Regions from separate parts of the Homo sapiens genome. Here regions 2, 3, 4, 5 and 6 are each linked to region 1. The links are contacts of gene promoters, found by promoter capture Hi-C in human tissues and cell types (Jung and others, 2019). All regions are on one chromosome and are shown on one strand. The core of a region is centred on a gene start or on the middle of the fragment in contact, and the rest is flanking DNA. Distances in the headings are between cores, read along the strand shown. Region 1 holds the start of GMEB2 (glucocorticoid modulatory element binding protein 2). Region 2 has its middle 15 kb from the start of NPBWR2. Region 3 has its middle 6.5 kb from the start of TCEA2. Region 4 overlaps PRPF6 (pre-mRNA processing factor 6). Region 5 holds the start of MIR1914 (microRNA 1914). Region 6 overlaps DNAJC5 (DnaJ heat shock protein family (Hsp40) member C5).

What was found. Contacts are between HindIII fragments. The study calls those that stand out against the background at their distance.
Region 2: a contact is called between a fragment that was not itself captured here and the fragment with the promoter of GMEB2 in region 1, in 1 of the 25 tissues and cell types used here (dorsolateral prefrontal cortex).
Region 3: a contact is called between a fragment that was not itself captured here and the fragment with the promoter of GMEB2 in region 1, in 2 of the 25 tissues and cell types used here (dorsolateral prefrontal cortex and lymphoblastoid cells).
Region 4: a contact is called between a fragment that was not itself captured here and the fragment with the promoter of GMEB2 in region 1, in 2 of the 25 tissues and cell types used here (dorsolateral prefrontal cortex and spleen).
Region 5: a contact is called between a fragment that was not itself captured here and the fragment with the promoter of GMEB2 in region 1, in 5 of the 25 tissues and cell types used here (H1 embryonic stem cells, dorsolateral prefrontal cortex, lymphoblastoid cells and 2 more).
Region 6: a contact is called between a fragment that was not itself captured here and the fragment with the promoter of GMEB2 in region 1, in 2 of the 25 tissues and cell types used here (dorsolateral prefrontal cortex and lymphoblastoid cells).

The regions. Positions count from the first base shown.
Region 1 is chr20:63,625,805-63,628,408 of GRCh38, forward strand. GMEB2 (glucocorticoid modulatory element binding protein 2) reads right to left here and starts at 1,297. Exons shown (of 10, transcript NM_012384.5): 1 at 1,152-1,297. MHENCR (melanoma highly expressed competing endogenous lncRNA for miR-425 and miR-489) reads left to right here and starts at 1,431. Exons shown (of 2, transcript NR_132417.1): 1 at 1,431-1,588; 2 at 2,386-2,604. RefSeq lists silencers at 659-1,198, 1,289-1,738. The HindIII fragment of the contact is 46,766 bases long and covers 1-2,604 here.
Region 2 is chr20:64,120,797-64,123,400 of GRCh38, forward strand. No RefSeq gene overlaps it. Among named protein-coding and RNA genes, the nearest start is that of NPBWR2, 15 kb to the left of the region's middle. RefSeq lists an enhancer at 2,318-2,604. The HindIII fragment of the contact is 5,841 bases long and covers 1-2,604 here.
Region 3 is chr20:64,055,358-64,057,961 of GRCh38, forward strand. It overlaps a transcript of TCEA2 not described here. Among named protein-coding and RNA genes, the nearest start is that of TCEA2, 6.5 kb to the right of the region's middle. RefSeq lists enhancers at 1-342, 343-1,032, 1,723-2,412, 2,413-2,604. The HindIII fragment of the contact is 6,157 bases long and covers 1-2,604 here.
Region 4 is chr20:63,992,258-63,994,861 of GRCh38, forward strand. It overlaps PRPF6 (pre-mRNA processing factor 6), which reads left to right. Exons shown (of 21, transcript NM_012469.4): 4 at 1,150-1,228. Among named protein-coding and RNA genes, the nearest start is that of PRPF6, 12 kb to the left of the region's middle. The HindIII fragment of the contact is 7,819 bases long and covers 1-2,604 here.
Region 5 is chr20:63,939,076-63,941,679 of GRCh38, forward strand. UCKL1 (uridine-cytidine kinase 1 like 1) reads right to left here. Exons shown (of 15, transcript NM_017859.4): 9 at 2,035-2,133; 10 at 1,875-1,968; 11 at 1,719-1,781; 12 at 1,519-1,641; 13 at 1,303-1,410; 14 at 1,075-1,231; 15 at 754-980. The coding sequence ends at 901. It overlaps MIR1914 (microRNA 1914), which reads right to left and starts at 2,469; the gene lies at 2,390-2,469. The HindIII fragment of the contact is 6,155 bases long and covers 1-2,604 here.
Region 6 is chr20:63,920,508-63,923,111 of GRCh38, forward strand. The region is part of intron 1 of DNAJC5 (DnaJ heat shock protein family (Hsp40) member C5); the gene reads left to right. Among named protein-coding and RNA genes, the nearest start is that of MIR941-5, 1.9 kb to the left of the region's middle. The HindIII fragment of the contact is 6,938 bases long and covers 1-2,604 here.

The DNA.
Region 1 (2,604 bases), core at 47-2,546:
CCAGGCTGCTCTCAAACTCCTGACCTCATGATCCGCCCACGTCGGGCTCCCAAAGTGGTGGGATTACAGGTGTGAGCCATCACACCTGGCCCAAGAAAATATTTTTAAACTAGTATTCTTGACCGGCACGGTCAACACTGATGTAATTGAAACTGTTGTATTTGAAGTGTTAGCAAAGAAAGAGAATTCTGGTTCAACAGAAAAGTCAGTCACGACTTTTCAGTCACGCATGAATTACACAGTAACCAAATAGATAACATGCCATGACTGACGACGGGCCCACAACAAATCAGCTCCGACCAACAGGGTCCACACCACCATGGGTCTACACAGATCCAGGTCCCGCCTGTGAGCCTACAGTGACGCGGGCCCCTGTGGGGTGGTCCCTGCAGGTCAGGTCCCTGAGAGTGGGTCCCAGTGGGGTGATCCCTGCGGGTCGCGTCCCTGCGAGTTGGGTGCCTGCCGGGTGGCCCCTGCGGGTCGGGTGCCTGCGGGGTGGTCCCTATGGGTCGCGTCCCTGCGGGTCGGGTGCCTGCGGGGTGGCCCCTGGGAATCGCGTCCCTGCGGGTCGGGTGCCTGCGGGGTGGCCCCTGGGGATCGCGTCCCTGCGGGTCGGGTGCCTGCGGGGTGGCCCCTGGGGATCGCGTCCCTGCGGGTCGGGTGCCTGCGGGGTGGTCCTTGTGGGTCGCGTCCCTGTGGGGTGGTCCCTGTGGGTCGCGTCCCTGTGGGGTGGCCCCTGCGGGTCGCGTGGTGGCCCCTGCGGGTCGGGTGCCTGCGGGGTGGTCCCTGTGGGTCGCGTCCCTGCGGGTCGGGTGCCTGCGGGGTGGTCCCTGCGGGTCGCACCCCTGCGGCGTGGTCCCCCCGGGATGGGTCCACCGAGGAGGCCGCTGGAGGCCGAGCCCGCGCCCGCCCGCGGCGCCAAGATGGAGGCAGGAAGCGCCGCCGCCCGCGCCCGCCACCGCCCGCGCCGCCCGCCTGACGCCGCCGTTGCGCCTGACGCCGCCGCCCGCGCGGCCGCCCCTCCCCCGGCCCTCCCCTCCCCCCGCCGTAACGTCCTGACGCTCCGCAGGGACCCCTGACTGGACGGCGGCGCGTGAGCGGAGCGAGAGGCCTCGCCGCGGGGGGGCCGCGGGCTCGCCGGCGCCGCTTACCTGGGGCCGCGCCGGGCCTGCTTAGGCACCCGGCGGGGGCGGCGGCGTCGGGAGCTGCGGCGGCGGCGGGCGGCGGCGGCGGCCGCGGGCTTCGCTCCTTGTTGGGGATTCGGCGGCGGCGGCGGCGCGGGCGCGCGCTTCCTAGTGACGCAGGCGGCGGGGCCGCGCACGCACGGGGCTGGGAGGGCCGGACACTTATTTGGCGCTCGCGGAGGAGGAAGGCGGGGCCGTGAAATAAGGCCCGACGGGCCCCGGGGCGCGTGCGCGGACCGACACTGTCAGCTCCTAACGCCGCAGGTTCCTCCTGGTCCCCGAGGCCCCCGGTCGGGCGTTGCCTGCCCCGCGCGGGCGGCCGGGCCGAGGGACGATGGTCAGTGGACGGACGGCGCCAGGGAGCAGTGCCCACGCGCGGCAGGGCGGTACCTTCAGGCCTCCAGGTACGGGCGCTCCTCGCCCGGACGCTGCTGTGTGTGAATGGGCGCGAGGGGACTCCCCTGCGGGGCGGACGCCTGAACACGAGGCTGTGGAGGAGGACGCTGTAGGGTGCGCGGACTCACGCGGAACATGCCAGAGGCTCAGCCAGCCACGGCGCTCCCAGCGTGGAGGGCGAGGGGCATCCGGGAGCGGCCGGGAGGGCTCGGTCACCCCTCAAGCTGTCACCCCAGTCCCACAACCAGCACCCCGATCCTATCGCAGTCCCACAGCCGACACCCCGATCCCACCCCTGCCCAACAGCCGGCACCCACCCCAATCCCATAGCTAACACCCCGGTCCCACCGCTGTCCCACGGCCGGCACCCCGATCCCACCCCAGTCCCGCAGCTGGCACCCCGATCCCACCCCAGCCCAACAGCTGGCACCCACCCCGATCCCACCGCTGTCCCACAGCCGGCACCCCGATCCCACCCCAGTCCCGCAGCCGGCACCCCGATCCCACAGCCGGCACTCACCCCGATCGCATAGCATAGCTGATACCCCGATCCCACCCCAGTCCCATAGCCAGCACCCCGATCCCACCCCAGTCCCATAGCCAGCACCTCGATCCCATAGATGACACCCCGATCCCGCCCCAGTCCTATAGCCCGCACCCCGATCCCACCCGAGTCCCGCAGCCGGCACCCCATCCCACCCATGTCCCACAGTCGGCACCCCGATCCCACTCGGATCCGGCAGCCAGCTTGGATCCTGTGGCCCTCCTCCAGCCCCCAGGGCTCATTTATATGTTTTATTGGCAGAGGCTGGGGCTGGCTCTGTTGGCCTCTGTGCTGGGTTTCTTCCTCTGCACCGCAGGACTGGCTCTCCTGACCTCTCCAGGTGTCATCGAACACCCTTGTGCTTGCTGTCACCCGCTGCCTGTCTGCAGGATCCCGGATTCCGTATCAGGGGACCGAAATTAGTCGGAAAATAGGAAGCAGGTGCTCGCTTGGATGGAACCCTGACCCTGTGCTCACACT
Region 2 (2,604 bases), core at 40-2,539, 490 kb after region 1:
ATGTGGCAGTATTGAGAGGTGGGGCCTTTAAGAGGTGATTGGGTCACAAGAGCTCTGCCCTCATGAATAGATTAATTTATTTATAGATTAATGGGTTATCATAGGAGTGGGGCTAGTAGCTTTATAAGAAGAGAGAGACCTGAGCCAGCACGCTCAGCCCCTCACCATGCGACGCCCTGCACTGCCTTGGGACTCTGGGGTTCCCACCAGCAAGAAAACCTCACCAGATGTGGCCCATTGACCTTGGACTTCCCAGCCCGCAGAACTGTAAGAAATACATTTTGTTTCTTTTAAATTACCCAGTTTCTGTTATAAGCAGCAGGAAACAGACTAAGACAAGGGGCAAGCCAGCCTCTGCCCACAAGGAGCTCCATTCTGGTGTGGAGAGACCCAAACACACAACTATGCTCTTTGTCTTGCTAGAGACTTGTTTTGTGGTGGCCCCAACCTCAACTTGCCAGCAATTTGTAAAAGAACCAAGTCAATTTTACACAGCAAATTAAACCCCAGGGTAAATGTGTGTACCTGGATTCCAATAGTAGGTAAAGATTCTTAATGGTGAAAACTATGACTCCTGTTAAAACTCTTGTGTTCTGTTCTTACCACTGAGTTTAAACAACAACTCTGTGCTAATCGTATAAAGAATATTTTTGTCTGGACTGTCTACGGCCAAGTTCTCCACCCTGGATGTGCACAGAATCCCCTGGGGACTTCAGGAGCTCACTGGAGCTGGTTCCACCCCCATGCCCAGGCTCTGATGTGCTTGGTCTGGGCTGGGGCCTGGGCACCAGTGTTGTCCTAGTTTTGTGTTGCTATGAAGGAATATCTGAGGCTGGGTAATTTCTTTTTCTTTTTCCTAGGTGAGGAGAAGGATAGAGGCTGGGCCATTATAAAGAAAAGAGGTTTGTTTGGCTCACGGTTCTGCAGGGTGTACGGGAAGCACGGTGCCGGCACCTGCTTCTGGGGAGGCCTCAGGGAGCGTGCACTCATGGCGGGAGGTGTCTCATGGTAAGAGAAGAGGCGAGAGAGAGGGGCGATGCCAGGATTTTTTTAAAACAACCAGCTCGTGTGGGAACTAATAGAGCAAGAACTCACTCATCACCATGAGGAGGGCACTAAACCATTCATTCTGGATCCTTCCCTATGACCCGAACACCTCCCACCAGGCCCCGCCTCCAACATCGGGGATTAAATTTCAACATGAGGTTCGGGGACAAACGTCCAAACTATAGCAGGTATTTCTGAAGAACACCCAGGTGTTTCAAAGCTGGGGTGAAGCCGTGGGTTAACACTGTTTTTCAGACATGGCTGGAGACCTGGGGTTCCTACACCACAGAGTCTCCCTGCCAGAGTTCTCAGCTCCTGGGGAGGCTGAGGTGGGTGGATCACTTGAGGTCAGGAGTTTGAGATCAGCCTGGCCAACATGGTGAAACCCCGTCTCTACTAAAAATACAAAAAATGTAGCCAGGCGTGGTGGCACACACCTGTAATTCCAGCTACTCAGGAGGCTGAGGCACGAGAATCACTTGATCCTGGGAGGCGGAGGTTGCAGTGAGCTGAGATCTCACTACTGCACTCCAGCCTGGGTGACGGAGTGAGACACTGTCAAAAAAAAAAAAAAAAAGAAAGAAGAAAGAGAAGTATCATGATAAAAGAAATAATATTTTAAAAAAAGACAGTGTGGTATTTGCATCAAGATAGACAGATCAATAGAACAAATTAGAGATACCAGAAATAGACCCACAAATATGAGCAAGTGATTTTCAACAAAGCTGCAAAGGCAATTCAATAAAGGCAAGTTTTGTTCTCAGTAAATGATGCTAAACAGTTGGATATCCATATGCAAAAAAATGAACTTTGATCCATACCTTGTACTATATTAAAATATTGTCAATATGGATCATAAACCTAAATGTAAAAGCTAAAATTATAAAACTTCTATAAGAGGACATAGAAGAAAACCTTTGCAAACTTAGATCAGGCAAAACATTATTAGATAGGATATCAAAACATAATCCATCAAATAAATAAGATGTTTCATCAAAACTAAGAACTTCTGCTATTCCAAAGACACTGCTAAGAAAATGAAAAGACAAGCCCAAGGCTGTAAGACAATTTTTGCAAATCACATATTTGATAAAGGACTTGTATCCAGAGTATATCAAGAACTCTCAAAACTCAATAACGTTAATGGAAAAAAACAGATTCTGTAAAATATTTTAAAGAGGTTTATTCTGAGTCAATATGAATGACCATGGCCTGGAGAAAACAGTTTCGAGAGGTTCTGAGAAAGCCTGGAGAACACAGTTTCGAGTTTCCTGAGAAAGCCTGGAGAACAGTTTCGAGAGGTCCTGAGAAAGCCTGGAGAACACAGTTTTGAGTTTCCTTAGAAAGCCTGGAGAACACAGTTTCGAGAGGTGCTGAGAAAGCCTGGAGAACACGGTTTCGAGAGCTCCTGGGAAAGCCTGGAGAACACGGTTTCGAGAGGTCCTGAGAAAGCCTGGAGAACACGATTTCGAGAGGTCCTGAGAAAGCCTGGAGAACACGGTTTCGAGAGGTCCTGAGAAAGCCTGGAGAACATGGTTTCGAGAGGTCCTGGGAAAG
Region 3 (2,604 bases), core at 45-2,544, 430 kb after region 1:
CCACAAACAAGCCAGAACTTGGGGTGCCAGGTGTAGGGAGGGGGGCTGTGTCAGGGCCACACATGGCTTTTGCCCTTGGGGGTTCATCAGGTATAGGGAGGGGCTGTGTCAGGGCCACACGTGGCTTTTGCCCTTGGGGGTTCATGGGAGGAGTCTTTTCACAGAGGGAGGAGCATGTGCCAAGGCCCTGGGGCAGGGAAGTCTGCTGGTGTGAGCAGAGCAGGGGGTGCAGAGAGGAGGGGATGAGGCTCAGAGGGAACAAGGGGCTGAGTTGGCTCTGGGAGGGTCTTGCATTTTCTGAGTGAGGTGGGACCTTGGGAGGTTCTGAGTGGAGTGTGATCTGCCTCAGCTCAGCTGCTACGTGAAGACGGGGCTGTGCGGGGCAGGAGGGACGGGCAGTCCCCTGCCAGAAGGCAGGGGGCTCTGCTTCTGCCGCGGCGGGAGCCTGGCCAAGGTTTGCTCTCAGACCCCATCTGGCTGCCCCAGGAGTCTCCCTGGTCTCTCTCTGGGAGGCCTGGGCCCCTGGGAGGTGCCGCCTCAGGGAACCCTGGTTTTGCTGCCCTGTGAGTCAGGTCTCTAGGCTTCACCCATAGCCCCGACCCCACGGCTGCCTGGGGCCTCTGGGGAAGGGGAGGGTGGAGTGGCCGCCAGGCTGGCGGGCTGGCAGGGCTGCATTTCTGGGAATTGTGTGGGGGAAGTGCATTGTTAGAGCAAGCCTGGAGCAGGCCGCCAGGGCCGCCACTGGCCTCTGGGGATGCCTCTTGCCTCCCCCAGCGTTGCTTCTGTGGGAGGGAGCTGGGACTGGGCCAAGGCTATGGGCTGGGCTGGGGACTTTCCGAGAGACGCTGCCCTGGGCAGGTGGCTCTTCCCATTCTACAGACTGGGCGACTGAGGTCCAGAGAGCCGGGTGCTGCAGTGGCATAGCCAGGAGCAGTGGGCCCAGTCCCCATCCCCTGCCCTCCTCTGCTGGCGCATGGGACAGGGGAGCACTTGCTGGACCTAAGCCCCGTCGCTGCCCTGCTGGTGGGGGCATCCAAGGGAGGCCTGGGTGGGGTCCACTGGGGTCACAGCTCGGCAGAGCCCCCAAGGTGGGCTGGAGGGTCTGATGGAAAGGGGCGCAGAGACGGCTCCTAGGTGCTTGGGCTGTGGGAGGGCTGCCCATGGGGTGGCAGGGGGTGGGGGCTCCTGGGGCTGCAGGATCCCCAGCCCCCGCTCTGTGGTTGCAGGAAGCAAGGGGGGCTCCGTGTGAGTTTGGCAGCGGGAGCCTTCCCACCACGGCGCTGCCTCAGCCAGAGGGGAAGCATGGATAGCGGCCACTGGGGTCATGGCCGGCTTTGGGCGGGCAGGGGGCAGGGGACACAAATAGAAAAATAAATGGCCTGAGTTTCCGACGTTTCCTGGACTCAGGATGGGGGAGGGGCAGGCCTTTGGGCCAAAGGTGCGGCTGGCCCTGTGGGGTGGACCAGGGGTTTCTCCCCAGACGCCTGTTGGGGCCAGGGCTGCCCCCTCAGACCTCCAAGGTGGGTCACATCTCCCCCTTAGAGCCCTCAGGACAGGGCCCCGTTGCCCACAGAGAATTCCTAAAGGCCTATCCATATGTCCCTGTCCATAAAGACGTCGAGTGTGGAGGACACCCTGGAGGAGGAGATGGAACCCTCCTGTTTGCTGGGGCTCGGCCCCCGGTGAGGCTGGCTGCAGGTGACCACAGAGACCTAGCCTGGTGTCGTGCGGCCGCTGGGTCCGTGAAGGGGAGTGAGGCACTCCTCACCCTGTGGCAGCTCCTAGTCAGGAGGCCTCTCCCCTCCACCTGCACGTCATGTGGCTGTGGCTCCCAGGACCAGCGCCTGGAGCGGGTGAGTGAACGTCCCTCTCCTCCGTGGGCACTGCCTCCGCTGTGAGCCACCCTTCAGGCTACGTGCATTTCCGCCTGTTCTCAGGGTTTAACCGAAACCGAACATTAACCGTAGCCCTAACGCGGCTGAGGGATCCAGGCCTTGCCTCTGGGCCGGGTGAGAGACAGACACTCGCCAACCAGTCCGCAGTGGCTCCCCGTGTGTGCGAGGCTCCCGCCTGCGTGTGTGCGTGTGCATGTGTGCCTGCGCACAGGGGAGGGAAAGTTCTTCAGCTGCCGAGGGCGGGAGTAGGGGCTGGAGCAGCACCCTGCGGCGAGGCCCCACAGGAGAATCGATGGTTCTGATGCTGTCAGCCTCTGGGTGCAAATTCTGAGGGCCCGGGAGCGTCTGGCGGCCCTGAGCAGCTTGCTGGGGAAGCTCCGTGGAGGAGGAAGTCCGGAGGTCGGTAAGCTCCAGGAGGGGTCTGCTGGGGGGCGAGAATGCTCTGAGCAAGGTCCCAGAAGTCCAGAGCTCCTGAGGGACCCGGGACCAGGGGCACTGGGGAGTTTCAGGGTTGGTCGCCGCCACAGCCCTCACAAACGAGGCCACTCTCTAGGACTGGCCACCTTCTCACCTCGGCCACTTCACAGTCCTGGGGGGCAGCTGTGGCTCTTGCTGGGAACCACCTGGACCTCCCTGGGGCTTGGGGGTGGGGTGGTGGTGAAGTGAGGCCCACCCGTCCGTGGCTCACTCCTGCCACCTAGAGGCCACT
Region 4 (2,604 bases), core at 70-2,569, 370 kb after region 1:
TATTTTTATTTTTATTTTTTTGAGACGAAGTTTCACTCTTGTCACCCAGGCTGGAGTGCAATGGCATGATCTTGGCTCCCTGCAACTTCCACCTCCCAGGTTCAAGCAATTCTCCTACCTCAGCCTCCTGAGTAGCTGGGATAACAGGCATGCGCCACCACGCCTGGCTAATTTTCATATTTTTAGTATAGATGGGGTTTTACCACATTGGCCAGGCTTGAACTCCTGACCTCAGGTGATCTGCCCACCTCGGCCTCCCAAAGCGTTGGGATTACAGGTGTAAGCCACCACGCCTGGCCTTCTTAGGTGTTTATGGGATGGTCCTACCTTTGGGATTTTGTGAATTTTCAAGCAGTAAATATACACATGTCCAAATGGAGGTATTTAGATCAAAGTAAGATCTTTTTTTTTTATTTTAATGAATTTCTACATGTTTTTATTTGGTGGATAATTGAATTAGTAGACTTACGAATGTATTTATATTTATTTATTTAGAGGCAGAGTCTCTCTGTGTTGCCCAGGCTGGAGTGCAGTGGTGCGATCTTGGCTCACTGCACCCTCTGCCTCCTGGGTTCAAATGATTCTGCCTCAGCCTCCCAAGTAGCTGTGATTACAGGTGTGTGCTACCATGCCCAGCTAAGAATGTATTCATAGTTACCTTAAAATATATTTGATTTGGGCTGGGTGCGGTGGCTCACACCTGTAATCCCAGCACTTTGGGAGGCCAAGGTGGGTAGATCACAAGGTCAGGAGTTCGAGAACAGCCTGGCCAGGATGGTGAAACCCCGTCTCTACTAAAAACACAAAAATTAGCTGGGAGTGGTGGCGAGCACCTGTAATCCCAGCTACTTGGGAGGCTGAGGCAGGAAAATCACTTAAACCCAGGAGGTGGAGGTTGCAGTGAGCTGAGATTGCGCCACTGCACTTTAGCCTGGGTGACAGAGCAAGACTCCATCTCAAAAAAAAAAATGTGTGTGTGTGTGTGTGTGTGTGTGTGTGTGTGTGTATATGTATATATATATATATATATTTGATTTAGCTACTAAGAGTATGGAATTGTTCTTTTTGGTGATTTAATTGAGATGGATAATAAATTTGCTTCAGAACAGACATGCAGTGTTTCTGATGTGTGCATGTTTTATTTCCTAGGGAGCAAAGGGAGAAAGAAGAAATAGAGAAATATCGTATGGAACGCCCCAAAATCCAACAGCAGTTCTCAGACCTCAAGGTGAGCCGATGAAGCGGTGAATGGTGTGCGGTTTCTAACGCTCTCACCCTAACCCGCAGAGACTCAGACTGCTCTTACGTGGAATTTATGAGACTTTACGTTTTTAATTTAGGGGGTCATTGCTTAGAAGAAGAAAGTGTTTGCTTCAGTATGTTTAATTATATGTGTGTAAAAAAAAACCCTTCCCCTACTGTAAAAGGTAGGACAAATGAACTTATTTTCTTTGTAATTTTGACTCCATTTATACCTAAGATTTTCTTTTTTCTTTTTTCTTTTTTTTTTTGGAGGCAGTCTGGCTCTGTTGCCCTGGCTGGAGTGCAGTGGCGTGGTCTCAGCTCACTGCAACCTTCACCTCCTAGGTTCAAGCAATTCTTGTGCCTCAGCCTCCTAAGTAGCTGGGATTACAGGTGCCTGCCACCATACCCAGCTAATTTTTGTATTTTTAGTAAAGACAGGATTTCGCCATGTGTACCAGGCTGGTCTCAAACTCCTGAACTCTAGTGATCTGCCCACCTCAGCCTCCCAAAGGGCTGGGATTACAGGCGTGAGCCACCACGTCTGGCCCCATTTATACGTAAGATTTTCTAAACTGTGTCCCCTGGGCTTTGAGAGAATAATTTACATTTTAGTGAAGTTGAACAGATCCAATAAATTGATTTTTCTTTTCTTTTTCTTTTTTTTTTTTTTTTGAGACGGAGTTTGGCTCTTGTTGCCCAGGCTGGAGTGCAATGACGCGATCTCAGCTCACCGCAACCTCCGCCTCCCAGGTTCAAACGATTCTCCTGCCTCAGCCTCCCTAGTAGCTGGGATTACAGGCATGTGCCACCATGCCCGGCTAATTTTGTATTTTTAGTAGAGATGGGGTTTCTCCATGTTGGTCAGGCTGGTCTCGAACTCCCGACCTCAGGTGATCTGCCCGCTTTGGCCTCCCAAAGTGCTGGGATTAACAGGCATGAGCCACCGTGCCCGGCCTAAATTGATTTTTCTAAGTGAAGTAGAAAACTATTTTTGGGGCTGGGTACAGTGGCTCACATCTGTAATCTCAGCACTTTGGGAGGCTGAGGTGGGAGGATCACTTGAGCCCAGGAGTTTGAGACCAGCCTTGGGGAGAACCTGTCTTTACAAAAAATAAAAACTTAGCCAGGCATGGTGGCCCACGCTTGTGGTCCCAGCAACTTGAGAAGCTGAAGTGGGAGGATCACTTGAGCCTGGGAGGTTGAGGCTGCAGTGAGCTGTGATTGTGCCACTGAATCCAGCCTGGGCAACAGAATGAGACCCATCTCAAAACAAAAGTAAAAAACAGTTGCTGCATCCAAATCCCTTCTAAAGCTTGGTGATCTGGAGGCTAGGGGTGAGAGAGGGCATGGTCCTACCTG
Region 5 (2,604 bases), core at 58-2,557, 310 kb after region 1:
CTGAGTCCCCAGCATCAGCCCTCAGCTCCACGGCTGAGCCCCGGGAGGCTGATTCAGTTATCTGGGCCTCTCCGGGGCCCGACGTGTGGGCGCCGCGCGTGCACCTCCTCTTCCTCAGTAAACCACGGCGGCGACTCCTCTCGGGGAGCCCGGGGGGGGCCTGCTCGGAAAGCAGGGTGGGCAGGACCTAAGGGAACCCACGCTTGCGGGCGTGGGCACGGCAGAGAGCACGGGATGCGGGTGGGCCTCCAGGTCTGGAGGGGTGAGCGAGGCGGGCCCTGAGCAGCAGTGGCTCCGGGCTCGTGGGCCCCGGGTGGCCCCGCCTCCAAGCGCAGGCCCCCACTTCCGCCCTGGTCTGCCTCCTGGCTTTGCTGCCTCCAGCGACTTGTCCTGACGGGAAGGACCCTCCCCCCCCCCAACTGTGGGGAGGACCCTGATGGTACAAATTTGTGGGTGGGGGCAAAACAGCCTGCCTCTTGTGAGACCCAGAGCACCAGGGGGCCCTGTCCCCTCCCTAGGTCCAGGCCAGGTGGCCACCAAGCTATGGGTTCTAGGGGCCCCATCTAGCAGAGCTAGGAGCTGCAGGGCCCAGTTCTACCCCTTCCTTCATCTGGCACAAGTGCAAGACTGGGAATGCTTGGTCCTGCAGGGGAGAAGGCAGGGCCCTCAGCTCCCTCCCTCCCTCCCCATGGGAGTCTCCACAAATGCATGCCTCAGCCAGGACACCTCTCCTGTGCTGTAACCAATCACACCTTCATTTTTCTAAAGCTTTATTTATTTTATAAAATGCATAGAATAAATTATACTAGTAACATTTTAAAAATTAACATCTTTGTATTCAGCAGTCCTGGGTCAGGAGGCAGGAGGAGGGTGGTGGGGACGGGATGGCTCACTGGGCAGCTAACCCGTGTAGGCCACTTCCTCCTCGTCACTGCCATCGGGGACCGCGTCTGTCCCAAAGTAGCGGTCGCCAAAGTTCCCTGGAAAAAGGGGGGGGGGGGTCCAGTGTGGTGGGGCCTCCCAGGGCCACCCACCCTGCCCTCATGTGCGGCTGAAGGGCCCGGGCAGCCTCACCAATGCCTGGGATGATGCGGAAAAGGTCATTGACCCGCTTGTCCACCGCCGTGGTGATGATTCTCACTCGCGGAAATGCATAGGCCACTGAGTGCACGCCCATCTCTGCCATGAGCAGCGACAGCAAAAAGATCTTGTCCTCAGGCACGTCGTGGTCCTACCGAGTGTATTGGGCAGGTAAATCCCACCTCTGCCTGAACCTGCCCCGCCTACCCAGGGCTCACTCACCAGGAGCACGCGCACTGCCATCATGGCCGCCGCGCCCGTGGACACGGTGCAGTCCATGAGGATCACGTGGTCATCGCTGATGTCCTTGGGCAGCCTCAGGTAGTGGAGCTGCGGGCAGCAGGGGTCAGGCTGCAGGTGGGGCTCCCTGCGTCCCCTTGCTGTGAGCTCCCTCTGCCCCCTACCCCCGGGCTCATCACCCCGGCTGCCCCCAGGCACCTCGGGCTCCCCGGTAAGCTGGTTGGTCTGGATGAGGATGGTGCCGATGCGCACGTCTTTGCACACAGCGCGCAGCGCGGGCTCCATGGTTTCACCGGCGCGCAGAATGGACACACCGGTGATCTGCGGGGAGGGGAGGCTAAGCGCCCACATCCCGCCCCAGCAGCCTGTCCCGCGCCCAGGTGTGCCCAGGCAGGTACCTGCTTCCCCGCATAGCACTTGCCCGCATAGTCCTGCCCCTGCGGGGTCTGTACGACGCAGTCCTGTGGGGTGCAGGGTGAGGACTCCGGTGAGCGCAGGGAGCTCGCACCGGCTCCAAGACCCACCCTCCACCTCGCGGGCTACGGGCTACGAACCTGAAAGGGCAGGAAGGAGAGCGCGTGCTCGATGAGCAGCCGCATCAGTCTCTTGGAGTAGAAGATGAACTCGTCGCGACTGGTCTCCTTGTCCCTGTGGGGCCAACAGTTGAGCGGGAGCACGCGCCCGGGGCCGCCCCGTCCCCAGGTGGGCCCTCACCTGATGATGGTGTGCATGCCCCGTACCTGCGGCGTGCTCTTCAGGACGCTCAGCGTCCGGGGCAGCGGGTGGCACTGGTGTGCCGAGGCCAGCGCAGCCCTGGGGACAAACCGATGGGGAACACTCAAGAAGGGGGTCTTTTCCCAGAGCCCTCCCTCCCCACAGGACGGCTGTGCGTCACTGTGAGGGGAACACACGGGCCAGGCACAGCACGAGGTGCAGAGCGGGCCTGACTTCTGCCTGGGGCTGAGCTGGGGGGAGACGTCGCCCTACCTGAGCTGTCAGGCAAAGGCGAAAGATGGCGGCGAACAACGGGGCAAGCTCACCATCAGGCAGAAAGCTAGCGGGGTAGGCTGTGAGGGCCCCTCCCAGTGCGGGACCCCTCCTGCGCTAAGAGGAAGCAGAAGTGGGCCGGGCACAGGGCGGGCTCACACGTGCTGATAGGTGTCATACCCCAGAATGGGTAGCTTGTCCCCAGCCTCTCCCCGGGGGAACTAAAGCTTTGTGGGGTCAGGCCCCGCCCTGGCTCCTCCCCGAGGTGGTGCGCGGCCCCTCAAGAGAGGGGGGTGG
Region 6 (2,604 bases), core at 51-2,550, 290 kb after region 1:
GGGAGGACACGGGTCCCCGCCATTTCAGAAGCTCAGCGTCCCTGCACGTGTGCGGTCTTGTCTGCCTAGGCATGTGTGCGGGCCCTGGGGCTGCTGCCAGCAGAACGGACTGGGATACGCTGGATTTGTAAAACGTGACCCTTTTTGTTTGCTTTTAATTTTTAATTTTTATTTATTTATTTATTTTTGAGACTGAGTCTGACTCTGTCACCCAGGCTGGAGTGCAGTGGTGAGATCTCGGCTCACTGCAACCTCCCCCTCGAGGGTTCAAGCGATTCTCCTGCCTCAGCCTCCTGAGTAGCTGGGATTACAGGTGTGTGCCACCACACCCAGTTAATTTTGTATTTTTAGTAGAGACAGGTTTTCTCCATGTTGGTCAGGCTGGTCTCGAACTCCTGGCCACAAGAAGCAATCCACCTGCCTCAGCCTCCCAAAGCCTTGTTTGCTTTTTTTTATTTTGTTTTGTTTTGAGACGGAGTTTCACTATTGTTACGCAGACTGGAGTGCAACGGCACGGTCTCAGCTCGCTGCAAACTCCACCTCCCGGGTTCAAGTGATTCTTCTACCTCAGCCTCCTGAGTAGGTGGGATTACAGGCATGTGCCATCACGCCCGGCTAATTTTGCATTTTTAGTAGAGATGGGGTTTCTCCATGTTGGTCAGGCTGGCCTCAAACTCCTGACCTCAGGTGATCCGCCCTCCTCAGCCTCCCAAAGTTTTGGGATTACAAGCTTGAGCCACCGTGCCCGGCCACCTTGTTTGCTTTTTAAAGATAATGATGTCACTAAAAGAGTTCTGACTGAGGCCGGGCCTGGTGGCTCACACCTGTAATCCCAGCACTTTGGGAGGCCGAGGCTGGTGGATCACGAGGTGTGGTGATCAAGACCATCCTGGCTAACACGGTGAAACCCCGTCTCTACTAAAACTGCAAAAAATTAGCCGGGCGTGGTGGCGGGTGCCTGTAGTCCCAGCTACTCAGGAGGCTGAGGCAGAAGAATGGCGTGAACCCGGGAGGCGGAGCTTGCAGCAAGCCGAGATAGTGCCACTGCACTCCAGCCTGGGAGACAGAGCGAGACTCCGTCTCAAAAAAAAAAAAAAAGAGTTCTGACTGAAGGTTGGAACTTAGCCCTCCAGAAATGAAGACTGCGAATAACGCTGATGGCAGCTCGTCACTTGCAGCAGGTTGCAGCACGTGCTGCTCGTGTAGCTGCGGCTGCACACCAGGCCTCTCCTTTAACTGTGTTATAACCTTTCTGTTGACATGGGATCCCCTTGAAAGTTTTTTTTTTGGAGACAGGGTCTCACTCTGTCACCCAGGCTGACGTCCAGTGGTGCAATTTCAGTTCACTGCAACCTCCTCCTCCCGGGTTCAAGCCATCCTCCTGCCTCAGCCTCCCAACTAGCTGGGATTACAGATGCACACCGTCACACCCAGCTAATTTTTGTATTTGTAGTAGAGATGAGGTTTCACCACGTTGGCCAGGCTGGTCTCAAACTCTTGATCTCAGGTGATTCAACCACCTCAGCCTCCCAAAGTGCTGGAATTACAGGCGTGAGCCACCACTCCCGGCCCCCTTGAAATTTAAACCAAGTTTAGGAAGAATGAAGTTGTGAGGTGCTACTTCAAACATCAGGTGGCAAACTCCCGGACTCATTACCCCAAGGAAATAGGCAGTCCAGGTTGGTGGCTCACGCCTGTAATCCCAGCACTTCGAGAGGCCGAGGCAGGCGGGTCACCTGAGGTCAGGAGTTCAAGACTATCCTGGCCAACATGGTGAAGCCCATCTGTACTAAAAATACAAAAAAATTAGCTGGGTGTGGTGGCGCGCGCCTGTAATCCCAGCCACTTGGCAGGCTGAGGCAGGAGAATCGCTTGAACCTGGGTGGTGGAGGGTGCATGGAGCCAAGATTGCACCATTGCACTCCATCCAGTTTGGGTGACAGAGTGAGACTCTGTCTCAAAAAAAAAAAAAAAATAGACATCAGAAAGGGTTGGCTCCTGTGATCTCGGCACTTTGGTGACCATGACCCAAGGCAGGAGGATCACTTGAGCCAAGGAATTCAAGATCAGCCTGAGCAACATAGACCCCGTCTCTGCAAAAAATTTCTAAAAACTTAGCTGGCATGGTGGCTCACGCCTGTAGTCCCACCTATTCAGGAGGCTGTGTTGGGAGGATCACTTGAGTCTGAGAGGTTGAGGCTGCCATGATCCCTTATCACACCACTGCATTCCAGCCTGGGTGACAGAGCAAGACCCTGTCTCCAAACAAACAAAAAAGCAAAAAATGGTGTTTTACCTAGGTATTTACCATTTCCAGTGGTCTTCATTCCTTTCTAAAAATCTAGGTTTTAGCCGGACATGGTGGCTCATGCCTGTAATCCCCAGCACTTTGGGAGGCTGAGGCGGGTGGCTCACCTGAGGTCAGGAGTTCCAGACCAGCCTAGCCAACATGGCAAAACCCAATCTCTACTAAAAATACAAAAATTAGCCAGGCGTGGTGGTACGTGCCTGTAGTCCCAGCTATTCAGGAGGCTACGGCAGGAGAATCGCTTGAGCCTGGAAGGTGGAGGTTGCAGTGAGCTGAGATTGCACCACTGCACTCCA